Regions from separate parts of the Homo sapiens genome. Here all the other regions are linked to region 1. Evidence: promoter capture Hi-C in 16 types of primary human blood cells and fetal thymus (Javierre and others, 2016). All regions are on one chromosome and are shown on one strand. Each heading gives the region's core, a stretch centred on a gene start or on the middle of the fragment in contact. The rest is flanking DNA. Distances are from core to core; before and after follow the strand shown.

What was found. Contacts are between HindIII fragments. The CHiCAGO score rates a contact against its expected background, and 5 or more counts as called.
Region 2: a contact is called between a fragment that was not itself captured here and the fragment with the promoter of LARP4B in region 1, in 1 of 17 cell types (endothelial precursors). The highest score is 5.0, in endothelial precursors.
Region 3: a contact is called between a fragment that was not itself captured here and the fragment with the promoter of LARP4B in region 1, in 4 of 17 cell types (M0 macrophages, M1 macrophages, fetal thymus and 1 more). The highest score is 8.5, in M0 macrophages.
Region 4: a fragment that was not itself captured here is called in contact with the fragment with the promoter of LARP4B in region 1 in 3 of 17 cell types (erythroblasts, M2 macrophages and total B cells); the score reaches 9.0 in erythroblasts.

The regions. Positions count from the first base shown.
Region 1 is chr10:930,354-933,070 of GRCh38, reverse strand. It overlaps LARP4B (La ribonucleoprotein 4B), which reads left to right and starts at 1,366. Exons shown (of 18, transcript NM_015155.3): 1 at 1,366-1,643. LOC124902363 (keratinocyte proline-rich protein-like) reads right to left here and starts at 1,080. Exons shown (of 2, transcript XM_047426111.1): 1 at 1-1,080. The coding sequence starts at 944. The coding sequence ends at 240. It overlaps LARP4B-DT (LARP4B divergent transcript), which reads right to left and starts at 45. Exons shown (of 3, transcript NR_120629.1): 1 at 1-45. RefSeq lists silencers at 786-875, 956-1,665, 1,736-1,845, 1,876-1,955, 2,046-2,175. The HindIII fragment of the contact is 3,248 bases long and covers 1-2,717 here.
Region 2 is chr10:3,089,659-3,092,358 of GRCh38, reverse strand. The region is part of intron 2 of PFKP (phosphofructokinase, platelet); the gene reads right to left. Among named protein-coding and RNA genes, the nearest start is that of PFKP, 23 kb to the right of the region's middle. RefSeq lists enhancers at 809-1,008, 489-1,688. The HindIII fragment of the contact is 2,141 bases long and covers 251-2,391 here.
Region 3 is chr10:3,164,245-3,166,944 of GRCh38, reverse strand. It overlaps PITRM1 (pitrilysin metallopeptidase 1), which reads left to right. Exons shown (of 27, transcript NM_014889.4): 3 at 1-9; 4 at 565-716; 5 at 1,418-1,532; 6 at 1,611-1,707. Among named protein-coding and RNA genes, the nearest start is that of PITRM1, 7.2 kb to the left of the region's middle. The HindIII fragment of the contact is 2,116 bases long and covers 275-2,390 here.
Region 4 is chr10:3,069,978-3,072,682 of GRCh38, reverse strand. All of the region lies in intron 1 of PFKP (phosphofructokinase, platelet), which reads right to left. Among named protein-coding and RNA genes, the nearest start is that of PFKP, 3.8 kb to the right of the region's middle. The HindIII fragment of the contact is 2,902 bases long and covers 1-2,705 here.

The sequences.
Region 1 (2,717 bases), core at 117-2,616:
GAGTATGCTGCTATAGTTCGGAGTCGTCACCATCCTCACGGAAACGGCAGGAGTGTGAACACCTCCCTGAGCTACCAAGAGCATCTGACTCGTTGCAACGTGGGCCCGAACCCAGCGCCTCTAGGAAACGTGGGGCCGGGGCCTTTTGGTCCCGGGTGTGGGTTGGGGGTTTGGGGAAGGGCCGGGGCCTTGATCCCAGGTGTGGGGTTGGGGATTCCGGGGCTGAGCCGAGGCCTTGGTTAGGGGTGTGGGGCGGGGGTTCGGGGCAGTGCCGGGGCCTTGGTCCCGGGTGTGGGGTTGGGACTTCGGGGCCGGGACCTTCGTCTCAGGTGTGGGGCGGGAGTTCGGGACAGGGCTGGGGCCTGGGTCCCTGGTGGGGCGTTCGGGGCAGTGCCGGGGCCTTGGTCCCGGGTGTGGGGTGGGAGTTTGGGGCAGGGCCGGGGCCTGGGTCCCGGGTGGGGCGTTCGGGGCAGGGCCGGGGCCTTGGTCCCGGGTGTGGGGTGGGAGTTTGGGGCAGGGCCGGGGCCTGGGTCCCCGGTGGGGCCTTCGGGGCAGGGCCGGGGCCTTGGTCCCGGGTGTGGGGTGGGAGTTCTGGGCAGGGCCGGGGCCTTGGTCCCGGGTGTGGGGTGGGAGTTCTGGGCAGGGCCGGGGCCTTGGTCCCGGGGGTGGGGTGAGGGGTTCGGGGCAGGGCCGGGGCCTTGGTCCCGGGTGTGGGGTGGGAGTTCGGGGCAGGGCCGGGGCCTGGGTCCCGGGTGTGGGGTGAGGTGTTCCGGGCAGGGCCGGGACCTTGATCCCAGCTGTGGGGTGGGAGTTCGGGGAAGGGCCAGGGCGTGTCCTGGGTGGCCAGGGTCGGGGCCTGGGTCCTGGGGGTGGGATGAGGGGTTCGGGGCAGGGCCGGGGCCTTGGTCCAGGGTCTGGGGACAGGCTAGGGCCGGGGTCGCCATCCGTCCTGGGCGGCGGGCAGGGGTCTTTAAGGGGCGCACGCGGTGGCGGAGGACCAGGGCCCAGCCCTCCGGAAGTCAGGGCCCACACGGCCCCCCAGCGTCAGGCGCTCCGGTCGCGCCGGGGACGGCGGGCGGGGCGGGCGGGGCGGGCGGGGCGGACGTGCGGCGTGCGCGGGGCGGGGCGATGTGCGCGCACGCGCCAATCGCAAGGCCGCGAGCAGGGTGTACGCGCGGAGAGGCCAAGAAGGCGGCGGGGCGGGCCGAGCGTCGGGTGCGCCCAATCAGCGCGCCGCAACACCATGACGTGAGGCTCTCCCGGGGCTGAGCGCCAGTCCGCGGGACCGGCGGGTGAGTGCGCGAGTTCAGGGCGCGAGGCGCGGGTCCGCGCGGGGGCGGGACTTCCGCAGGGCCCCGGAAGTGGGAGCTGTGTGTTCTCATGCGAACGGGAAGGAGCGTTGGGGATCTGGAGTCCCGGGGTTGAGACATTTTCGGGCCCGAAAGGGGAAGAATCCGCCGCCGCCGCCGCCGCCAGCTCGCGCCCGCCCTCTCCCCTACCTCCGGCCCGGCCCGGCCCGGCCGCGCCGCCTCTCCCTGCCGTCTCTCTCCTCGCCGTCCCCGCGTGTGGCGCGGCCGCCGGGCCCCGGGGTTGAGGCGAGGAGCCCGCGGGCGGCCGGTCGGGCGGGGCGGCGGCGCTGACAGGTGAGGCACCCTGGGCCGCGGCGGGCCGTCCCTCCCGGCCCAGCTCGGACCCGCGCCGCGCCGCCTGTCACTGCGCCGCCATCTTCCCGGAGGACGCGGCCGCGGCGGGCAGGGCCGGGCCTGGGCCGGGGCCGGGGCCGGGGCAGGGGAAGGCCGGGGCCGGGTTGAGGAGGACCGGGGCTAGGGCACGGGAAGGGCCAGGGCTGAGGAGGACCGGGGTCAGGGCCAGGAAAAAGCCGGGGCTGAGGAGGACCGGGGCCGGGGCAGGGGAAAACTGGGGCTGAGGATGGCCGAGGCCGGGGCAGGGGAAGGCCGGGGCCGGGGCTTAGGAGGACCCGTTGAGGCGAGGCGGGAGTCGACGGAGCTGGGTGCCCGGAAGACCGGGCCGGGGTCAGGGTCGGGAGGCCGGGGTTGGGCGAAGGCCGGCGAGGACGGGGGTCGGGCAGGGCCTGGGCGGGGCCGGGGTCGCGGGCCGCGAGCGCCCCCAGGCCGGGCGGGCGCCGGCACCCGCAGTGCGGCGCCAGCCTTGCCACTCGCTCCTCGGTCCCGCCGGAGCCCGGATAGGCGGCCGTGCGGGTGCGGGGCGGGACGGGTCATCAGGGCATCGCATTCCTTTAGAACCAGGAAGTTGGGATCCTGTTGCTCGGTGTGTGTTTGGAACGCTCCTGTTTTCCTGTTGATAGACTTGAGCAGAGGTGGATCTGAAGGAGTTAAAAAAATAAAGTCAGATGTGAAGATTGCCTGTGTTGGTCTTGGGGCTGGGATACATGGGCGGCAGAGAAGCCATCGGAAAGCTGCTGCACCTGCCTCTCAGGGTGCGCTTGGGAACGTGAAGAGTCTTTCCGTTTCAGTGCCGTTGTGCGTCGAAACTTCATGCGAATGTAATTTTGCTTTTCCCCTTATTTTTACGTAAAACGTTCTTAAAACTTGGCTGAGATGAAACTTGAGAAACCTAGCTGTAGAAAACTACCTCCTATCTGGCTTTCGTTTGAGATTCTCTAAGTGGATGCCCAATAACTTGTCTTAATAGTAAATTGGAAGTTTGAAGTTTTGGATAACTGAGAAAACAGGAAG
Region 2 (2,700 bases), core at 72-2,571, 2.2 Mb before region 1:
CATCCTCCTCTCTACCTCCACGAGACCAACTAAAGAAGGGAAGCATGATGCCAATCAATTCATTGATAAGTTAATGGTTTGTTTATTGGTATAGTAAGTCAAGCTGTAATGCTCAGGGCTGAAACAAGGGAAGCTAAGATCACATGCTGATATTTCAAGCTCAGAAGGGTTGGCCAGTCTGGGTGCAGGGACAGGGCTGCTGACCGGGGGCCATGGGGAGATGGAGACCCTCGGGCACCTGAGCTAAGCTTGGGGGCCGGTGGCGGGGGTCAGGTGGCACAGGCTCCATGGCAGCACATCTGGGAAGACCAGAGGCTGGATGCTGATGCTGTACCAACACCCTTTATCCTTTCAACATAAAAAGGCATCACTTATCTGACACCTTTTGAATGTGTTATTTTTAATCATGGAAAAAACTAGCGATAAAATGATCAGAATTATTCCTAGCCTTTCTTTAGGGTGTGGACTATGACAAAGACAGCTCTGATATTGTTTACAAACAGCTGTCTAGAGCAGAACCAAACTTTAAAACAAACAAAAAATTAAGATAAAAGACTTTTTTCTTTTTCTTTTTTGACACAGTCTCGCTCTGTCACCCAGGCTGGAATGCAGTGGCGCAATCTAGGTTCACTGCAACCTCCACCTCCTGAGTTCAAGCCTCAGCCTTCCAAGGATTACACCACGCCCAGCTACCTGTTGTGTTCTTAGTAGAGACGGAGTTTCGTCATGTTGGCCGCGCTGGTCTTTAACTCCTGACCTCAAAGGATCCATCCGCCTCAGCCTCCCAAAGTACTGGGACTACAAGTATGAGCCACGGTGCTCGGCAAGAATCTTAAGTGAGTCATATTTGAAGAGCTATAATAATATGAACAATTTCTGAAATCTGCAGAAGAATATTCAACAACAGGATATGAAATTCATGAATGAAACCAAATGCAAGGAGCCGACTGTTTCCTGCAGACACAGTGGCAGCCCTGGATTAACCAACTGACTCGCCCCAGCTTGGTTTGGACCCACCAGAGCCAGGGTAGTTTACCCTGGGCATGGCCTTTGGGTCAAAGCATCTGATATACTTAGTATCATCATCTCCAAGAAGCTAAAGCCATTTGTAGGCTTCTAAGGAAAAACCTTAGCTTAAGAGAAAAAAGAAAGAAGCAACAATTGGTTCACCAGGTAGAAAGGAATGGGTTAACTGGCAAACCCTCCCCGAGTCTCCCTGGAATGCAGCCCAAGGCTTGGCATGCTTCACACGTAGGCTTGGCCCAGGTTTATAGGAGCTCAAGCAGCGGCCAGACAGCAGAGGTCCCTCGATGAAGGCCAGGCTTTCAGCAGAAACGCCACTGTTCCCAGGTTAATACTTTCTTCACACATGCACTACTGAAGGAAAAAACAAACCCCTTTAATTAATAGTAACCTGTTTAACTGTCCTGGTCTGTTGGTAACCCAGAGAGCTCTAGGTTAGAAACTAGAGTATAGGTGAAAAAAATCTGTTGGATAAATTACTGAGTCATCCTTAAAAAAATAAAACATAATATCCCCTCAATTTGAGCCCAAATAGGTCTAGAACAGCGGTCCCCCAAAAGAGTGATTTTCCCCCCATAGGACGTTCGCCGATGTTGGAGATACTGTAAGGACATCTTTGACTGTCATGACTATGGGGTAGGTGGACACAGGGGTGCTGCTCCGCATCCTGAGAGTCAAAGGACCGCCCACCAAGAATTGCCCACCCCAGATGCCATCGCCCTGACACTCAGAGAGAAGCCCAGCCTGTGGGTATGACGCAGAGACCAGGCCGGGGAGGGGGCTGAGCCTCTTCAGTGCAGAGCCATCTGTGAATAGATGTGTTCAGGTGCAGACCCCGTTTCCCTACCTGGCCACACACCCATGGAGTCAAAGGCATGCGCGTCTCATCCCTGAAAAGCAGTCAAACAGCTCCTCTGCCCCGTTAGTCTCAGACTTTTCCAAGTCCTTTCTACCAGGGAGACAGGAGGGCAAACACCATTTCTACTGCACAGATGAGCACACAGAAATGAAAGGTTGATTTATGCATCCACAGTCACTGCAGTACGTCCTGCAGGCCCACGATGGCTCACCCAAAACCCAGGTCTGAGAGGCAGGCCAGGACTCAGAAGACTTGGGATTTTAAAAAGCAGGTTTTCTAATGGCTTAAAAATATTCCATTGCGTATATACGCCACATTTTATCCACGCACCCACTGATGGCCACTTAGACTGATTCCACATCTTGATACACAATGGAATATTATTCAGCCAATAAAAAAGAATGAATCCTGTCATTCTGAGCAACATGGATGGAACAGGCAGAAATTAGGTGAAATAAGCCAGGCACAGAAAGACAAATACTGCAATCTCTTACTCATACATTTAAGCTTAAATAAAAAATTGATCTCATGAAGACAGAGTTAGGATTGATCTCGTGGAGACAGAGAACAGAATGATGGTTACCAGAGGCTGGGAAAAGTAGAAGGAAGCAGGGGTGTAAAGAAGGATGGTTAATGGGTAAAAAACAGTTTGAGATAGAAGGAATAAAATCCAGGGATGAGTGATACTATGGAGCGACTACAGTTAATAATGTATAATAATGTTTAATAATATATAATAATGTTATACATAATGTATAACATTGTATACGATATGTATAATACATATATAATTCATATTATACATAATGTATAATAAT
Region 3 (2,700 bases), core at 83-2,582, 2.2 Mb before region 1:
TCTGTTCAGGTGTGTGGTGCATTGTAAGAACATGGTCTTGAATGTTTTTATTTAAATCAGGAATGTCCATTCTTTTGGCTTCCCTGTGCCACAATGGAAGAAGAACAACTGTCTTAGGCCACGCATAAAATACACTAACACTAAGGACAGCTGATGAGCTAAAAATAATAAATAAAGGACCCCTCAATGTTTTAAGAAAGTGTATGAATTTGTGTTGGGCTGCATTTCAAGCCATCCTGAGCATGCGGGCTGCAGGCTGCGGGTTGGACAAGCTTGATTTAAAACATGGCTATACATTACGTGGTTTAAAATATCATCTCACTAGTATTTTTATTGACAGAGCATCTTGAAAAATAAGGAAAAGTTTACACTGACTTATAATCTCATCAAAATACAATTTTACAGTCTGAGTCAATGATTTACATTATAGTTGGAAAACCCTGTGCTGGAGGATTGTGGTGTCAGAATGATGATTTCTAGTAGCCTGAGGTGATGATGCATCTGGGAACTGTGTCCGCAGCACTAAGCTGAACCTTTTGCGTTCTGGTCATTCTCCTTCCCTAGCGTGCAGTTCCGTACTACTCCCATGGACAGTACTGGTGTTCCTCACATTCTTGAGCATACCGTCCTTTGTGGGTCTCAGAAATATCCGTGCAGAGACCCTTTCTTCAAAATGTTGAACCGGTCCCTCTCCACGTTCATGAACGCCTTCACAGGTAAGACCAGCATCCTGAACAGAAACTGCTTTTGGGTTTGCCAGGCACACCCACTGGAATTCAGTTAGTTTCTGAGAAGGAATGAGGGGAGTGGGCAATTCATGTTCTAGAAAAATTTTTACCTCTCTCTAGTTGAAGGACATTAGAAATTTAATCCTTCAGGAAAGCCACATGGTAGCGAGATTGTAAAAACTAGCGTTTTAAGAAAACATATGTGAACTTTTCCCAGAAAAGTTCAAAACAATTTTCTCTTGGAGATATCGCTACAATGCCAGAGTTACTACTAATGTTGATGTTTGACTTTTAGTAAGACTGACGATAGTGGATAGGGTGACGATGAACAGTGCATTCTGTGGGGGAGTGACATTGAAGAGCGGGTTAAATCCATGCTGTTACAGAATGAGGTCATCTTTGTAGATGTATGAAAGTCTCTGGAGAAACTTGAGAGAGTTTAGATATTCGCTGAAGAAAGCCCTGGTGCCCGTCGAGTGCAGATCCTGAGACGGGATGGGAAAGCCGGCACTTGGGGTTATGAGCTGGGACAGCTGCTGAGGCCAGGGACCAGAGCATGGGGCCACTGCCCCATCCCAAGAATAGCTACAGCTTACTGTCCTAGGACAAAGGGGGAATGAGTCTTGAGAGTCAATAATTTTAGTAGAAATCTGTTATATTTTACAATTTCACTTTTCATTTGTACCCAGCTAGTGATTATACTCTGTATCCATTTTCCACACAAAATCCCAAGGACTTTCAGAATCTCCTCTCGGTGTATTTGGATGCCACCTTTTTCCCATGTTTACGCGAGCTGGATTTCTGGTATGTCATGAATGATTAACTAGTTGATACAGACTTTAGTATTTGAGTCACTATCAGCTTATAATGATTTGTCCTCAGGCAGGAAGGATGGCGGCTGGAACATGAGAATCCGAGCGACCCCCAGACGCCCTTGGTCTTTAAAGGAGTCGTCTTTAATGAGATGAAGGGAGCGTTTGTAAGTTTTCTTCCTTTTTTATGTTGTGTTCAGCTTACCTTTCCCATGTACAATATCATGATATAGACACATCTGGAAGATTTTATTTAATATTCTCATTATAGGTGATACATTCTTGAATTAGCTGGGGTCAGTGCTGTGAGCAGAAGTCGGGGTAGCAGGGCCAGGCTGCTGTTCTTCCCAGCAGGTCTCAGACCATGTCTGGGGACCCCTGGTATGTGATCTGCAGCAAGTCTGTGAGATAAAAGCTATTTTCATACCACTACCAAGACAGTGTCTTTTCATTCATTCTTGCCCAAGTACACGGTGTACTTTCTAGAGGCTGCATGGCAAGGTGTGTGACACACAGCGAGCTGCATACAGAGCAAATGGGGGAGTCCAGCTTCACCTCTGAGCCAGACGCTACAGAGATTTGCAAAAAAGGCAACACAGCACCACTCTAATCAGTTTTTTACTTTGTTATGAGAAGTATTTTTCAAAAATATTTATATCAACATGTAATGATGGCTTACCTTAATGAATAAGTATTTTTTAAATGTCTCAGCTTTAATTTAGAATATAGAAAAATTATATAAACACACACAGGCACCTACACAGGCAAAAACGCCCACATAATCAAAAGCTGTTTGGGTCCTCATTAAAACGCATTTATGCCTAGTGTTCCATTATTGGCACCCTAAGCTTGTGGGAGTTATTTATGTCCTACAGCTCAAGGTCATCGCCAAGGTCTGATTTTTTACAAAAAAATTGCAACCTCAGGCATAAATGGGTTAATTTTTCAGAGTGTAAAGGATTCTTGAGACCATTTTGGATTAAGAGCTGCTGTCCTGGGCCCATGTCTTCATGTCCCTTTGTGACTTGGACAACCTGTCTGTCCTGGTGTCCCTGAGGCTCATGGGTGGCCTGCTCTCTGATTCCCGTAGCTCCTCTCGGCTGGTGAACTATTTCTTACCTTTTCATTCTCAATTTGGTGGTCTTTTCTTCCAAGGAGTC
Region 4 (2,705 bases), core at 180-2,679, 2.1 Mb before region 1:
GGAAAACATGCTTCTTTCGAAAGATGACAAAATGTCTAGCTTCGAAGGGTCATTCGAGTATGGCACACAAAACGGTCTGCATTCACAGAAAATGATGCCATTACACAAATCTCCCACTGTGCCACATGGTGACACCATCATTCCAACACACTGCCTCCCAGACCCAGTAATTTTTGCAAAATTAATTACTGCACTTTACACTGAAAAGATCCCATCAAATAATGTATGTACACAGGAAGGTAACGGGCCCAGAGCCGTGGGAGGCAAAATGGCGCTGTTCTCAGTTTCCCCTTCCACCCTACTGGGCTCCGAAGCCAGCATTGCTTCAGACACCAAAGGTGCCCATGTGGGGCTCAAGCCTGGTGTCCAATAAATATGTGTGTCATTGACCTAATGCACGTCCAGCCAATGGAAACCTCACACTTCTGACTTCGGTTTTAAGGTTCTAATCTTGAAGTCTTAACAGTTTACACATATTGACCTGAGGATATTGGATACTTTTAATTAGAGAGGGTTGAATTCCTCTAAAGGACTTCATGGACGAAGAAGACAGCTAGAACCCCTGGTTTCCTGCTCCTCAGTGGAGATTCCAGGCAGGAGGCAGGCAGCAAACACTTGCATTCCTGCGAAGCGCCAGGCATGGTGCTGGGCGCGGGAAAGACACCAGTGAAGACGCAGGTACGCGCAGCCCTGAACATCCCTGCTGCAGCCACAGGGCCCGGCCCCACCACGGAGCTCTGTGAACTCAGGGAAGGTGGTGCAACTCAGGCGCCCCTTGCTCATGTGTAAAATAGGGATAAGTCATTGCCCAGGATCACTGAGGCCCTGCCACATAACAAAGAGTCATTAATGCTAGTTATTCTCACTAGGATTGGAAAGGTTTGTACTTACTCAATTTATGTGGACTTTCTATAAATACTGTATTGATATTCACCTCACCACAGGCAAAAAGGACGCAGCTTTCACATGCAGCCTACCCTAAGGATGCACCTGGACTTCCCAGTACACTCAGCTCCACCAGGCACCAGGACCTTCAGAAGCCACAACCTGTGACTAAGACAATGAGTCACTCTTGGTGTGTGGCACAGTGTTCTGTGGCAGTGGGGACTTAGTCATGGTAAGTCCGCCATTCAGAGTTATGGAGCTTATTTCAGATTGAGTGAAAATCAATTTAAGTTTCCAGACATGTCTTGGGACAACAGAAGATACATAAAGAGGCAGAAGAAGAGAAAGAAAAAAAAAAAAAAAAAAAAAACAGCCTGAGACAGAAGATATCCAAGCAAGTAGAAAAAACAAACAAACAAACAAACAAAAACAGCCTGAGAAATACTTTCTTCATTCAAGGCCCGGGGAGTCGGGAATATAGAAAAGAGAAAGAGATTTTCAATTGTATCTTATAATTAAATAATATACACTCTACTGAGAGAAGAAAAAGCAGCCCATCACATAATATCGTTCTTGCCACCTGGACTCCTATCACTATAAAAAGGCATTTTCCGTTCCCCTAACAAAGCCACCCAAAGAATATCTGTGTAATTTTGGGCAAATCGGGTTTTGCTCACTTTTGAGCATTAACTAGATAAAGCAGCTTCACCAAGAAAGGTCCCTGAAAAACATGGTGGAGATGGTGGAGGCCTGACACAATGGCTCATGTCTGTAGTCCCAGCTCTTTGGGAGGCCAAGGCAGGAGGATCACTACAGGAGGCCAGGAGTTCAAGGCCAGTCTCGGCAGCATAGTGAGATCCTGTCTCTACAAAAATAATAATAATAATAATAATAATAATTAGCTGGTCATGATGGTGCATTCCTGTCTTCCCAGCTACTCAGAAGGTTGAGGCAGGAGGATCACTTGAGCCCAGGAGTTTGAGGCTGCAGTGAGCTATGATGGCACCACTACACTCTGGCCTGGGTGACACAGCCAGACATAAGTACTCTTCGTGGTCTACGGGAGAGTACAATATTTGGAATTAAGATCTGTTTTGCTCCTATCACAATCACGTATGCACCTCATGCCCTTACCTAACTTACTTTTCTTTCTGAGTCTTTCTCCCCACTTCCAAAATGAGGACACGCCTCTCTTGGGATCATGTATTTAGGCTTGGAGATAAGAAGTGTAAAGCTCTTAGAATACAAAATGTTTTCAACAAATGGTAGCTATGATCATCTTAATATACGGAATTTTACCATAATTTCACATCTGACAGAAAATTCCCCTGAAATTAATACGTGAATGTGAATATGTTCTCTCATCTCTAGCTACAAGCAATAGTCTTCTATGTCAGGGAAAATCAAGTACTAACATAGAATCAGAATAAAATGGTAAAAGAATGGGGACACTGAGATATTCTCGAGGAATAACCTACTTACTGTAAGGGTTTGTAAATCTGTGGCAGCTAAGACCAGGCCCTCTGAGTACATCTGGAGGTGAACTTCCTTAAAAGAAATGCGTCCAAATGCTCCAACAGGTTCAAGATCGTATCACCGAAGGGTAAAGCTCTTTACAGAGTCTACAAAAAAATTGTGACTTCAGCTCTGCCAGGGAAAGAGTGCCCAGGCGACCCGCCATGGCGGGCTTCCCCAGGGACAGCCCAGGTGTGACCCATGTGGGCTCGAGGCCACCATATTTGATGCCACCTGCAGAGCTGAGGGCAGCTGTCTCCTATTAACCCGAGGTTGCAGCAACCAAGCCGCGTTCCCCACATAAT